Linked DNA regions of Homo sapiens: region 2 is linked to region 1. The links are contacts of gene promoters, found by promoter capture Hi-C in blood cells and fetal thymus (Javierre and others, 2016). All regions are on one chromosome and are shown on one strand. Each heading gives the region's core, a stretch centred on a gene start or on the middle of the fragment in contact. The rest is flanking DNA. Distances are from core to core; before and after follow the strand shown. Region 1 holds the start of LINC00469 (long intergenic non-protein coding RNA 469). Region 2 has its middle 22 kb from the start of SDK2.

What was found. Contacts are between HindIII fragments. The CHiCAGO score rates a contact against its expected background, and 5 or more counts as called.
Region 2: a fragment that was not itself captured here is called in contact with the fragment with the promoter of LINC00469 in region 1 in 1 of 17 cell types (naive CD4 T cells); the score reaches 5.1 in naive CD4 T cells.

What each region holds. Positions count from the first base shown.
Region 1 is chr17:73,825,708-73,833,354 of GRCh38, reverse strand. LINC00469 (long intergenic non-protein coding RNA 469) reads left to right here and starts at 4,818. Exons shown (of 4, transcript NR_027146.1): 1 at 4,818-4,907. RefSeq lists enhancers at 2,980-3,479, 3,480-3,981, 4,972-5,481. The HindIII fragment of the contact is 4,592 bases long and covers 4,284-7,647 here.
Region 2 is chr17:73,662,156-73,669,802 of GRCh38, reverse strand. No RefSeq gene overlaps it. Among named protein-coding and RNA genes, the nearest start is that of SDK2, 22 kb to the right of the region's middle. The HindIII fragment of the contact is 1,871 bases long and covers 2,184-4,054 here.

The DNA.
Region 1 (7,647 bases), core at 3,569-6,068:
TTGATCCTGAGGGTGGCTCAGAAGATGCCTAGACTTCCTGCCACTAGTAGATGGTTTAGATCCAAGCCTTTAGTTTTTTATTTTATTTTATTTATTTATTTTTTTATTTTTTTGAGATGGAGTCTCACCCTGTCACCCAGGCTGGAGTGCAATTGCACTATCTCGGCTCACTGCAACCTTCACTTCCCAGGTTCAAACTTCTGCCTCAGCCTCCCGAGCAGCTGGTACTACAGGTGCCTGCAACCATGCCCAGCTAATTTTTGTATTTTTAGTAGAGACAGCGTTTCACCATCTTAGCCAGGCTGGTCTCGAATTCCTGACCTCGTGATCCTCCCACCTCGGACTCCCAAAGTGCTGGGATTACAGGTGTGAGCCACTGCGCCCAGCCAAGACTTTGGTTTTTGTTATACGTGGGCAGCACCCAGAAATGGCACTCATCTCCCATTTGCCCTAAACCAATAACACCTTGTGAATCAGTCATCGACTACTGTGTAACAAATAACCCTAAACTTGGTGTGGCCTCAAACAACAACCATATACTCAGTCTCAATTCTGTGGTTTGCCAATTTACAGTGGACTCAGCTGGTCTGAGATGTTCTACTGAGCTTCACTGAGCTCAGCTGCATTCATCTGCACAACTGCTGGGTGGGCTGGAGGCTGGTTGGCCTAGCTGGGCCATGGGCTAGTTCAGGCTTGTTCACAGGTGGTCTTAGTGTTCCACGGTCAAGAGTGGAGGCTTCATGGCCTTAGAGTGGACACATTGTCACTTCTACCAGCTTCTGTTGACCACAGCAAGACAAATGGCCAGTTCAGATTCAAGGGGTGGTGTAGTAGTTTGAATAGTGTCCCCAAAAAATGCGTGTCCATCTGGAACCTCAGAATGTGACTTTCCTTGGAAATAGGGTCTTTGCAGATGTAAATAATTAGGGATCTCCAGGTGCAAACATCCTAGATTTAGAGTGGGCTCCAAATCCAATGACCGGCATCCTTGTAAGAAGAGAGGAAGACACAGAGACAGAGAGACACAGTGAGAAAGACACACAAAGTCAGAGGCAGAGATTGGAGTGATGGAGCTACAAGCCAAGCAAGTCCAAGGATTGACACCAGGAGAGAGATCTGGAGTGGATTCTCCCCTAGAGCCTTCAGAGAGAGCATGGCCCTTCCAACAACTTGACTTTGGACTTATTCTGTTGTTTCAGCCACCTGCTTTATGGCAATTTGCTACAGCAGCCCTAGGAAGCTAATATGGGAGGGAAATAGACTCCAGCTCTTGATGGGGGAAGATGCAAAGTCATATTGCAAAGGATGAGAATACAGGAAGGCAGGGGGAAGTAGAGCCTCTTTTGCAATCTTGCACCTTGGTTTACCAGTCCCCACTTTGTTCCTGGCAGGTGTCTTAAAACCGAAGAGCATCACAGAATGCCAGACACCAGACACTCACCACACGCAGTGGGTGCTATTTCTGCACCAGGCTCCAGAGAGTGCGTTCCTGGGTGCTGACGCTCCTACAGCTGCCTCCTCTGCAACAGCCTCTCTTCCCTGTACAGATTCCTCACCACATCCAGCCAAATTGCCTTCATCTCAGCAGAGGCTGTAGAAGGCAGACGGCCAGGAGAGTGGGGCCGTCAATGCACTGGGTACAGCAGTGATCCTCCAGGATTTTCAACACCTCAGGTCCTAGTGGCCTGGGATGATCTGACCCCAGACACCCTCCCCAGATGCAAGTCCATCCCCAATGCACAGGAAGGAATACATCTCTGGATTGACTAAAACATCATACTGGAAAGGAAGTTTGACAGAGGAAGGTCATTCTCATTCCACAGGCACTTCAAAGACAGGCTTCTCTCTTGGGAGTCGAGCTGTAGCTTCCATGAAGTTTTCAGCACGTTTTCTGAATACCCACCTGTCATCGATGCTTGGAGGTGCAAAGTGGGTTGGATGACTGAATCCTGCCCTTGAGAGCTGACACTGTCACCAACGTTGTTGAGATGGGCTGGAGTCACCCACTGAGCACTCAGTGACTGGTACGCCAAAGGCCAAGGCCTCACGGTGGACACCATGATGAAAACAACATACAATTAGATGGGAGGAAAACATTCTGTTCTTCTCTGGCACAGAAGAGTGGCTATTGTTAATACTAATGTACGGAATATTTCAAAATACCTAGAAGAGAGGACTTCGAATGTGCTCACCGCAAAGACATGACAAATATTGGAGGTGATGAATTTGCTAATTACCCTGATTTGATCCTTACACAAGCTATACATGTGTGGACACATCACACTATACCCCATAAATATGTACAACTATATGTTCTTTTTAAAAGATGGAAACGATGCCAATGTCCATCAACTGGTGAATGGATAAACGGAGTGTGTGTGTCCATATGATGGGATCGCATTTGTCCATGTAAAGGAAGGAAGTGCTGATACACGCCACAGCGTGTGTTGGTGGACTGCTCGGGGCCCATGCACACCTTGTGTCCAGGCTTCCTCTTGCAGGACCAGGATCTTCCCTGTCTCCTTCCACGTTGCTGAAGAGTCACCCTGCATCAGGCAGTGGATCACAGTGGCAGAGTGATGAGCTTGATAGACAAGGAGCAGCCTTCAGGGAGCTTTCACCCAGTAGGGGAAATGGATGAATAACCAACAACAACACCTACTTACAGCTTGTGAAGGTGCCAAAAAGAAACCAGAAAGGTGCCCTGGGAGAGGGGAGCTGGGGTGGGGATAGTGGGTGAGAAGGAGTTGAAATCTGAGCTGGGACATGAGGAACTGTGCTATACAGGGTTGAATAGTGCCCTCCCCTGCCCCCACCACCATTCATATTTTCTCCAGGAACCTCAGAATTTTTTTTTTTTTTTTTTTTTTTTAAAGAATCAGGGTCTTAGTGTGTTGCCCAGGCTGGTCTTGAATCCTGGCCTCAAGCAATCCTCCCACCTTGACCTCCCAAAGTGCAGGGATTGCAGCGTGTGCCACCATGCCCTGCCAGAATATGATCTTATGTGCAAATAGGATCATTGCAGATGTAGTTAATGTGAGGTCATACTAGAGTAAGATGGGCCCTTAACCCAATATGATTTGTGTCCTCATATGAAGGGAGAAGAGACACAGCCATGCACAGAGGAAAGACAGTGAAAGCACAGACACGCAGAGGGAGATGGCCTCGTGACAACAGTGGCAGAGGCTGCAGCGATGCAGCTACAAGCCAGGGAACCCGGAGGATTGGTGGTAACCACCTGCAGCTGGAAGAGGCAAAGAGGATGCTCTCCCACAGCCTTCAGAGGGAACAGGCCCCTGGCAAGACCTTGACTTTAGAGCTGGGCCTCCACAATGATGAGAGAAGCCATTTCTGTTGTTTGAAGGCACCCAGTTGATGGCAATTGGTTACAGCGTCCACAGGAGGCTGAAACAAGAGCGAAGACTGTTCCAGCAGAGGGAGGAGCCAGCGCAGATGACTTCACGAGAAAGTTCCTAGGCCTGCTGGAGCAGCGGCCGGGACGCCCAAAGGAGCGGGAGCCCTACAGGCAGGCAGGGATGGTCCCAGAAGGAGTTGGTGCCCAGCCACAGGGTCTTGTAGACCATGGTGATGATGTTTGTTTTATTCTAAGAACGCTGGGAAGTCATTGAAGGATTTTACAAGAAAGATGAAACATGATTTGAAGTTCATTTTTGAAAGATCGCATCAGCTGCTCTGTGAAGAGGAGTTTTGAAAGAGGCAAGAGAGGAGGCAGGACAGCCACTGTGGCCTGCAGGTCCTCAAACGATTACACAGAGTTACCGTGTGACCCACAGTTCCACTCCTCTGTATAGACCCACGAGAAACGAAAACATATATTCATACAGAAACCTGTACAAAATGTTTAAAGCAGCATTATTTGTAATAGCCCAAAGATAGAAACGACATAAATGTCCACCAATGAATCCATACAATGAGGTAGTTATTTGGCCATAGAAAGGAATGAAGTGCCGATAGGACAGCATGAATGAACCCGGGAACCATCACGATAAGTGAAGGAAGCCATTCACAAAAGACCACGGATTGTATGATTCCATTTAGACAAAATGCCCAGAAGAGGCAAATCTCTAGAGACAGAAAGTAGATTACTAGTTGCCTAGGGCTGTAAGGGTGAGCGTTGGGGAGGGGAGATAGCTGAAGGGTCAGAGCTTCTTTTTGAGGTGATACAAATGCTGTAAAATGGACCACGGTGACGATTGCAGCTACATGGAATATACTAGCAACCATTGAATTGTATACTTTTTTTTTTTAAGTGAAAGCAAGCTTATTAGAGAAGTAAAGAAACAAAAGCATGGCCACTCCATAGGCAGAGTAGCCTGAATTGTCCACTTTAAATGGGAGAATTACATAATATATGAATTACATTTCAATAACGCTGTTTAAAAGAAAAAAAAAAGAGTGAAATCTCAGAGGAGGCCACTGAGCACTCTGGTGGAAGAAAATGGTGACTTAGGCCAGGGTCATAGAAGTAGAGACAGCAAGAAGGGATGAAAACAGTGGATTGTGGAGGCCGAATAGACAACCGATGAATAGGTCAACACCTGCTGTCCATCTGTACGAGGGAATATTATTCAGCCATAAAAAGAAATGAAATGAACCTTGCTGCAACATGATGTTAGGTGAAATAAGCCAGACACAAAGGCCCCATATGGAATGATGTCACTTACACGAGGTTTCTACAATAGGCAAATTCATAGAGACAGAAAGAATGGAGGTTACCAGGAACTGGGAGGAGAAAAGAATGGGACATTATTATCTCACAGTTCCAGAATTTGTTTGGGATGATTTAAAAAAAAAAAAAAAAGCTCTGGAAATAGATCATCAGGATGGTTGCACAATGTTTTGAATGTAAATGCCACTGAATTGTACACCTTAAAAGGGCTCAAATGGTAAATATTATGCTATGTATATTTTACCATGATGAAAATAAACGTACAAAAGTGAGACAGCAGTGAGTCTAGGCCTCCCTTTTAAGAAGCGATGGCATCAAAGAGAGCAGAGGAAGAGAGATGGAAGTTAGGAAGGGGTTTTTCAAAGAGCAGATTCACGGGAAACGATTCATTCGTGCAGGAGAGAAAGGATGAAGGAGGAGCGGGGTCCCTTGAATGTCCACAGGCAGAAGACGAGGGCAGAAGGGGAGGAGGTTGTCTTTGTGGCGGACAGAGGAGCTGTGAATAGGGAGGGAAACAAGGGTGTGCCTTCCGTTTACTCAGCACAGGAAGAAGCAAGGCGAGGAAGAACAGGCTCCTTTTTGAAATGCAAAAGCCTGTTCTTATCTAAACACTCTTGCATAAGACAAACAAGAGCGCTACCCAGTTGGTGACTTGGGACAGGAATGCCTGCCACCCTCTTAAACGTTCTCTCCCCTCCCCTAGCCTAGACTGAAGACCTCGGCCTCCAGCTTCTCTCCCAGACCCTTTCTTGGCTGGATGAGGTCACTCACCCCTTTTGAAAGCTCCACAGGCATTTCTGGACCAAGTTCCCTCACTCTTTTAAATGGTTCTGTAATTGCTTCATTCGCATAAACCTGCCCTCCTGGGCATCTGAACAGCCCCAGGGCAGGGCCTGACTGCAGAGCCAGCTTCCTTACGCCAAGGCCCTCGTGCCTGCGTCCCTCCTCGCCTTCAGCCATGAGGTTGCCTGGCCAGCGGTGGGGGTCGCCTGGATCGTGGGGATGTTCCCCCCACCCACCTGGCCCCACCAGTGAAGGGCCCCAGCTGACACCATCTCTCTTGTTTCCTGTTTTCCTGGGTCAGACCCAGCTGGAGGTCTGCAAATTCTGAAGCAGTTCTCAACCCTGGGTGCACATTTTAATCATTTTTTACAAAATACGAATGCCTGATGTCCAGCCCTGACACTGGTCTGCTTGGTCTGGGGGTGAGGCCCTGGAACGGATGTGTTTAGATTTCCCATGAGACTCTGATGTGCAGCCAGGGTACCAACCTCTGCTCTAAAGCAGGTGAGATTGCCCTGGGGACTTCATTAGAATCAGTGCCCAATTCCTCCACCCCCGCAGAGATTTCGCTTCTGGAAGTCCAGAGTCGAGGTCCAAGAATCTGTGCATTTTAACAATACAGCCCCCAGGGGAGCTTGATGAAGGTCCCTTGGGAAGTTCAGGGCATGGTGCAGGGGACACTGTCTCTCTCTCCTTCCCTCTCATCTGCATCAGCTCCCCAGGCAGGTGGCACTTTCTCTGGACAGGTCTGGAGTCAGGGCTGCAAGGCTGGTTTATGCCTGGAGGTCGGGGGATGATGTGAGGTGTGCATAGAGAGAAGCCCCTGTGAGGAACGGGGACCACTCCTGCTCACCCACATCAGTGACAGCCCAGCCTGGGGCTGGCCCTGGAAGGCCAAAGAGTGAACAGGTCTGGGGGCTGGTGCTGGGTTGAGCTCAAGGGCCTGGGGCTGGGGTCTCCATTCCAGATTCCTCCTTCCCTCTGTCACTTCAAGTACCATCAGAGCCACCTGGGGATTTTGTCCTGAGTCACTCTGAGGCAGAGCAGGTGAGGCTGTGCTGGGGAGGAACATGGGGGCCTGAGCCCCCGACTCCTCCCCATTCCCCCACCTGCCCTGCTTCAAGGACTTGTCTAAACTACACAATGCCAGGCCGGCGCTCCCAGCTTGGGCTCTCACCCCAGGTCCCATTGAGAAGGTGGAGAAGGGTCAGGATGGAAGTTTCAGGCAGGTGGTCCAGGAGAGGACAGTCCTGGGTGGAGTCTGGGTCTTGGGTGCTCTGGGCAGCTCATCACCTTGAGTGTCCAGACTGTCAAGTCCGAGCGAGACAGGCAAAACCCCTAAGTGGACAAGAGTTGGCAGGGACCAGGGCAATGATTAAATCCACTTCAGATCATTTCTGTGGCCGTCTTGTTACCCAGCCCTGGCTATGTGTTTCAATAACGGCTGACAGCGGGTGCAGTGAGCTGGGCTGGAAACTGCCACATCCATCCACCCTGCTCAGGGACAGCTGCTCCCCTATCCACAATTCCCTTGTCCCAGAGGCCAGGACTGAGGCCAGGACACTGACTAGACACCCAGGCCTCCTGGCCTCTAAGAGCCACTCATGGGAGTCATCCACGACATCTGGGGAACCTCCTTGACTTCAGAGGAGGATATTGGAGCCCAAGCTAATTGATGGGTAAGCCAGGACCTGAACACAGGTGGTCAAGCTCCATCCTCCCCTTGGAGAGAGGACACAGTCCTACAGAAAGCCAGACTGCTTGGATTTGAATCCAGGCTCTGCCTCAGACGAGCTGTGTGACTCTGGACCTGGGTCTCAGCCTCTCTGTGTTCCAAGTGTCCTGTCTATTAATGTGGACGATAACAGTCCCTACCTCTTAGGGTTACCATGGGGATTAAATCTGGTAATTTAATTTTTGTCTTTCTTTTGAGTCAGAGTCTCGCTCTGTTGCCCAGGCTGGAGTGCAGTGGTGCGATAGCTCACTGCAACCTCTGCCTCCCGGGTTTAAGCAATTCTCCTGCCTCAGCCTCCTGAGTAGCAGGGATTACAGGTGTGCACCATCACGCCCAGCTAATTTTTTTCTATTTTTAGTAGAGACGGGGTTTCTTCATGTTGGCCAGGCTGATTTTGAACTCCTGACCTCAAGTGATCCACCCACCTCAGCCTCCCAAA
Region 2 (7,647 bases), core at 1,870-4,369, 160 kb after region 1:
TAGTTTTCTGTTTTAGAATAACCATCTGAGTTTTTCAGTAGTTTGATGCTGAAATTCCCCATCTGTTCACGTATGTTGTTCACTTCTCAAACTGAATCCATTAAAATATCTAAAATTGTTACTTTAATATCTTTGTTGGCTTATCGTAACATCTGGAATATCCATGGATCTGCTTTAATGACTTTTTTCCCTTTTGATTATAGGTCACATTTCTTGCTTCAACAAGTGCTTTGTAATTTGTAATTATATTTCAGACATTGTGTATAGATGAACAGGAGAGTCTAAAGTATTAATAATAGAGTCTATATTACATATAGTATACCACATACTATATAATATTTCTATTATAGAATATAATAGAAATAATATAATATAATAAGATATAATATAATATAATAGAAAGCCACCATACTCACACAAAAGGAAGTAGAAAGTAGGAAGTAAGAAATATATATACTATATAATATAAATAAATACTATATAATTTCTACTATATAGTATATATGTATATATACTATATATACACCATATAATATGCATATAATATACATGCATTACTTAATCTATATATCATATATTATATATTATTTCTTATATATTATATATCATATATTATATAATTATATTACAATTATATATAATACATATATAGTAATATAGTCTAAAGTATAATTACTCACTGAAGTGAGAGGCTGAGTCAACTTATTCTGTGGTTGAGTTGAGTTGAGTCTCAGCTCTAGTGACAGCCAGTTCACTATGGACTTCAAATGTTTTGAGGGTTGGATCCCTGCAGCAGGATTCGGGATCTGAATTCCAGCAAGTCTTCTGAACCACAGCTGATCGCGCTCTGCTTTGGCTTTTGGGTCCACTGAGTTCGGCTTTCCCTCTGGGGTGATGTCTCTTCATTCCACTTCTCTGGCCATGTCCTCTCGCTGGCATCTGCCTTGCCCTTGGTGACATCCTGGAACACACCAAGGACATATCTCAGCTCTCCTGATTTGCCTCCACCATAGCCATACATTTGGAGGTAAAGGTGGGAATTGTGACTGGGATCCACGGGCTACAAATCTGTCATGTTGGCCTCTACATGACTATTAAAAGTTGATTACACTTTGGCAGGCTGAGGCAGGCAGATCACGGGGTCAAGAGATAGAGACCATCCTGGCTAACACGGTGAAACCCCATCTGTACTAAAATATACAAAAAGTTAGCCGGATGTGGTGGCACGCACCTGTGGTCCCAGCTACTCGGGAGGTTGAGGCAGGAGAATTGCTTAAACCCAGGAGGCAGAGGTTGCAGTGAGCCGAGACTGTGCCACTGCACTCCAGCCTGAGTGACAGAGTGAGACTCCATCTCAAAAAAAAAATAAAAAATAAAAAAGTTGATTATAGTTTGGCTTGTTTCTTTGTACCCCTATCCATGCTGGGTTTACCCCTCCTCTCACCACCCTCCAGTCATGAGTCTCTTCTGTCCTAGGAAGGGCTTGCAAATTTATGTCCTCAGCTCTCTGATGGATTTTAAAAGAGGTGATTTTGTAACTTATGTAGCTTGTTTTTGTTTGGGGGAAAGAAAATCAAAGTGATGGTCTCTTGTAATTTTCTGCATCCTAACTGATAGCAAAAATCCATTCTAACCAGAAGCAGATGTTCTAATAAGCAGTGATTAAGTGAATGTATGTTCCTTCTGCCCGGGCAGCTCCTGAGCCTCTTGTCTATCTGGAAGATGCTCCCTCAGCCTCCACATCTTCCTCCTTGAAGTCTTTCCCAATTTCCCCATAGCCTTGGGCACTTCTTATACTAGTCTCCTCTGTTCTTTGATCCTGCCTACATTAAAGCTATTTTTCTCAAAATATCATAATTGTTTTCATGTCTGTCTTCTCTGTTGAACTTTGAGTTCCTTGACAGCAAAAACCCTGTAGTTAATAAATTGTATACATATATACACATGCACCCAAATGCACACACACACGTGCATATATGTACTATATACATATACATACATTATCCACAGAATACACTCATCACTAAACCAAAATGTGCTTACTCAACAATTAACACGTGATTTCCATCTTTTGTGATCAAGTCCTCATGCCCTGTCTGACACATGGTAAGCGTGCAATACGTGTTTGTGGCGTTCATGAATAAATAAATAAAAGAGCAAACTCCTGCCTCTGTCCTGAAGCTTCATCGCCATTAGACATAGTTACTGCTGGCTCACGTGATCTTTTACTTTCTGCTTCGTTGGGAGGGGACTGAGTGAGTGGACAAGTGTTTATGTGCATATGCAAATTTAAAATTCAGCCTGATTATTCTAAGTTTGGGGTGTTTGCTTTGAAGTTACATTTTTGGCACCAAGAGCCAGTGTCCAGAGGTGGCACTAGGCAGAGGATTTGGAAATCTGCCCAAAGCTGGCCCATGGTTGGTTAAATCTACCCCTGACAGGAAACAGGGCTTTGAGAACTGAGCTGCTGTACCAGGAAATGGTCTTGAGCAAGTTTGGTGCTCTCTGTTTCTATTCTTAGAATTTCAGATCCAGGGCAGGATAAGGACATCAAGGGCATCTATTACAACTCTTTAACCAAATCAGATGCTTGAAAGTCCTCATATGTCTCCTCCGTCCCCAGAATCCTTCTTTCCAACACAAATGTTCAATTATGCATGAGACTGGAGTCAGACAGAGTTCCAATCTCATCTCTTAAACTCTCTGAGCCTCTGTTTTCCTATCTGTTAAATGAGTATACTAATGCCTACCACCCAGGATTATTTTGAGCACTCAGTGAAATCCTGTTTGCAACGTGTGAGCACCAGGTTTCTTCTCTTTCCTGGCATCTTCTACCCACCTCTGTGTGAGCATCTTTCCATCACCATCGGGAAAAGTCACCACTCTGGCCGAAAGGCAGAGTCAAGGCACAGTAGGGTGTTCGCTTTCTCCTTCTCCTTCTCCATCATCTCCAAAGTTGCACTCAGTCCAAGCCACCCTCAGCAGGGCAGGGCCTAGGGAAAGAAGAGGTGGGAGAGATTCATCACCAGGGCTGCTGGGAGCTTAGAGGTGACCACGGAGAAAGAAAGGAAGAGAGAGAAAGCAGACGGGAACAGGGAGCCACAGTACTCACACAGAAGGAAGCTGAAACAATGCTGCCCAGCAGAGGCCACAGACAGCCCCTGCCCCTGCCCTGGGCCTGGAGAACTGTGCCCAAGATCAGCTGTGCCTTCATGCAGCCAGGCCAGGCATACCAAGGTGGATGAATAAGTGGGCCAATTGCTGAAAGCATGGCCAGTAAAGACAGATTAACACAGTTTGATCATAAGAGAGAGATATTAGTCTGTTCTCACGTTGCTCTAAAGAACTACCTGAAACTGGGTAATTTATAAAGAAAAGAGGTTTAATTGACTCACATTTCTGCAGGCTGCACAGGAGGCATGGCTAGGGAGACCTCAGGAGACCTACAATCATAGCAGAAGGCAAAGTGGAAGCTGGCACGTCTTCCACGGCCAGAACAGGAGGAATAGAGCGAAGGAGAGGGTGCTACACACTTTTAGACAACCAGATCACTCACTATCATGAGAAGAGCAAGAAGAAAACCTGTCCCCAGGATCCACTCACTTCCCACCAGGCTTCTCCTCCAACACTGGGGATTACAATTTCTCATGAGATTTGGGTGGGGACACACATACAAACCATACCAAGAGGATTTCAGCGCAGCCACATGTCCATTTTTTTCATCTTTTTATCAGTGGGGAAGCAGGAATAAATGAATATGGCAGAGAATGTGAGGGAGTGAGAGCAGAAACTACAAGTGGAGAGTCCTGACCTCTCAACTTGGCAAGTATCATAATAATAAAGCCTGAACTTGGATTTATGAAACACCTACTAGGTGCCGGTCACATACAGACAGAATCTCCATTCTTCACATCAAGGTAGGTAGTATGCCCACAGTACAGATGAAAACACGTGTCGGTCATAACACTCCAGGATTTGCTCCTAGGAGTGTCTGATGCCACAAGGCAAACTCTTTTTACTAGATCAATCTGCCTGATCTTCAATCAGGTAAGCTTGGGTGGGTTAATACCTGTTCCAGTAACCAGGTATCTCTTTCCAAAGTCTTGTGGATGTCCCTATAGGATTGAATGTGACACGGAGGGGAGGAAAGTCAGGAAGAAGGGAGACGCGGGAGGGAGAGAGAGGGAGGGAAGACAGAGACAGAACACACATGGGTGTTTCTCTCCTTTCATAGTAATGGATAGTAATTCTGAGAAAGTTCCCTTTGCAGGATTCAGGCTATGTTTGGGAGTTTGTTTTCCCACTCTCTGCAAGAAAGTTAATCAATTTTAGAACCAGCCCCTTCTGTGCCAAGATGACAACTGGGAGAAAAGGGATTGGTTTTTTAGCTGCTGGGTTTGCTGGGCAGCCCCCCTCCCACTTCCATGGGGCCACTTATTGACATTGAAATATCTCGACAATAAGCAGCTATTGATGGCTCCTGAGGTCAATACCAAGATTCATTGACCCAGGCTGCAAATATGGAAGGCGGTGAGTCCAAGGTCACTATTACCTGAAGCGATGCAAAATAAATCTTGATAAGAACCAAAAATAGAAATCAATATGCATACTGTGGTATGCATTGCATTACCTCTCTCCAGCAGGAGGCTATTTTAGGAGGTTTCAGGGCTCTTCTGCCATCAGAAGCTGAGCTCAGGACTGGAGAGGAAGTAGGAATAGAAAATGATCCTTCTCTGGTTGCCCCAGTCAAGGAGAATGAGCAACCTACACCACCGGTAGGGATCAGCCTGGTCTCCACAGAGAACCTCAGCACCTCCGGTCACTCTTCCAACCTGGAGAAAGAGCAGAGTGAATTTCCAAACCGTATGTGCCATGATGGGTGAGGCAAGGTGGCCATTTCTTCAAAGCATACTTTAGTGAACAGTGCCAGGAGAAGCACCTTTGGGGTAATTAACATGACCTTCACCTTTTGGGGAAACTTCTGCTTCCAAAGAGGATGTAACCTGGTGAGGAAGGGGAGACCCAGGGCTCAACCAACTACTAAACCCAGGGTCGAGCAGGATTCACTGATACAGCTGGCTACCTAGTGACATATGCCTGCCTTTCACAAAGATTTCAAAGGGCTAAGTTGCCGTGATGTGACATATCCTCTCCTTTCAAGGCTATTTTTTTATAATTATTTGTTTAAGCTTAATTAACTTCTTTTCCAGTTACAAAAGAAATTCGTGTTCTTTGTAGAAAATGTCAAGCCTATTTATGATGATCCTTTTAATCTCACCCAGAGTGTTCATGCTGTCTGAAAAAGTGAGGAGAGTATGAGTTTTGAATTCAGACAGATCTGAGTTCTAGTTCCAGTTTTGCAATTTAATAGGCATATGGTCTCAGGCAAGTAAAGGAGTAATTTTCTGCTGCCCTTTTCTCACAATATAAACCTTCTTTGTGAAGTTGATGTAAAGCTTAGAAAAGGATTTATGTAAAGTCCCCAGCAAAATACTAATAGAGTAAACAAATGTCTGACAATTTTGATCATGAAACACACATTCACATAAAAATAAGTAACTTAAGAAACAGAAATGGGAACATAACTACTAAAGTAAAGATGATTCTTAAAATTGTAAGATAATATATACAACTTTATTCTAACAAATTTTAAATTCAGCAAGAAATAGATGACTCCTTAAGAAAAAGTACATGATCAAAATTGATTAAAGGAGAGGTATCAAATCAAGGTCTTAATGAATCAAGAACCAGTCAGAACGTAGAAATCATGCTAGGTATTTCAAACCAGGGGAGTTTAATACAGGAATTGGTTACATAGGTGATCATAGAGCGGAGAAACCCATTAGGGTTGCTTAGCAACAGTAGAAAGCTGTAAGAACAAAGGGTGGAGGCACTTATATCAGAGACCAGTTCAGTGGGAACTGGGCCCATTGGGGCAGGGGCTGAGAACAGTGACTGGAGCCACAAAAGCAATGCAGGTGCTGTCAGCTATCTAAAATGGGGGCTGGAGGACAGGAAGGGAATGTCTTTGCTTCTCACCACTTTCTTTCCTCCATTTTTGAGCCAGTGCCTCCCATTGGCCAACCCACCTGGAAGCCTGAGGGTAAACAAGCCTGAAAATGCAGTTCTCTGAGATACAGAGCAAAGCAGGGCAAAGGCAGGGAATGAAGCTGATGGCAAACAGGACTATGGCTCAAGGTCATGATTGTAGGGAGTTCATGAACAAGTTCTACTAAATCTTCAAGGAAGAGTTTTTTCCCATGATATAGAAACTATTCAGGAGCATAGGAAATGAACATGTTTCACATTAATTCTATGAAGTACCATGACCTGGTACCAAACCCAGAATGGCATAAAAAAGCAAGCAAACACCTAAGAGCCAACCTCATTAATAAAAATGAGAGGTGAAAGGCCAGGCATGGTGGCTCACACCTATAATCTCTGCACTTTGGGAGGCCAAAGCAGGAGGATCACTTGGACCCAGGAGTGCGAGGCTGCAGTGAACTATGATTATGCCACTGCACTCCAGCCTGGGTGACAGAGCAAGATACTGTCTCTAAATGTATATATACATCAAATTCTTTAGTGTATTAAAAGAATAATACAATATACTCAAGTTTAATTTGTTTTAGGAATTAAAGGTTGGTTTGACATTGGGAAATGTATTAATGTAATTTTTTACATTAACAAATTAAGGGAATAAGCATTCTGATCATTTCAATGGGTATTGAAGAGAAATTTGATAAAACACAACACACTTTCTCACTAAAAACACAAAACCTTGGCAGTTATGAAGAGGTTTCCTTTTGCAAAAGGTAAGGCTGTGGTAGAGAGTAATTTTTCCCCCTGTTCTCAGGAGGAAGAATGAATCAGCTTTGTAACCAGCTTCATCTGACGGCTTAGATGGCCACTAGAAGGGAAGGTGCTGTGATTTGAACGATGTTGTCCCCTACAACATTCATATTGAAACTGAATCCCCAATGCCACAGTATAGTAAAAACCTGTGGCTTTTGGGAGGCAATTGAGACATAAGGGCTCCATTTTCAAAAATGGGATTAGCCTTTTAGAAAATGGCTCAAGGGTGAAGAGAACATTCCCTTGGTCTTCTGACTTCCACCACTAGTAAGGACACAGCAACAAGGTGCCATCTTGGAAGCAGATGTCAATGCCAGCAGCTTGGTCTTGGACTTCCCAACCTCCAGAACTATAAGAAATAAATTTATGTTCCTTATAAATTATCCAGTCTCAGATATTTTGTCATAGCAGCACAAAAATACTAAGACAGAGGTTTGAGCTTATCAGCTGGTCTCTTAGGCAAACCTCTCTTATTTTCACTGAGTTGCTTACTGACATTGAACCATCTCGATAATAAAAGATTGACAGGATAGAAAAAAAATTTTTCAACCTGGTGAACCTTCCTTCATACTATAGCAAGGTAATCACAAATATCATTCTTAATGGTCGCATATTAAAATCATTCCCACTAAAAGCAGTTTCAATAAAAGTTTAAACACTATCACCTCTACCATTTAACACTGGAGTGGAGGCATGAGGCCAATGCATTAAAGAAATGAAGCAAAACAAGGTCAAATATTGGTAAAGGAGAGACCAAACTGTTGCTACTTGCACACAATATGATTATCAGCC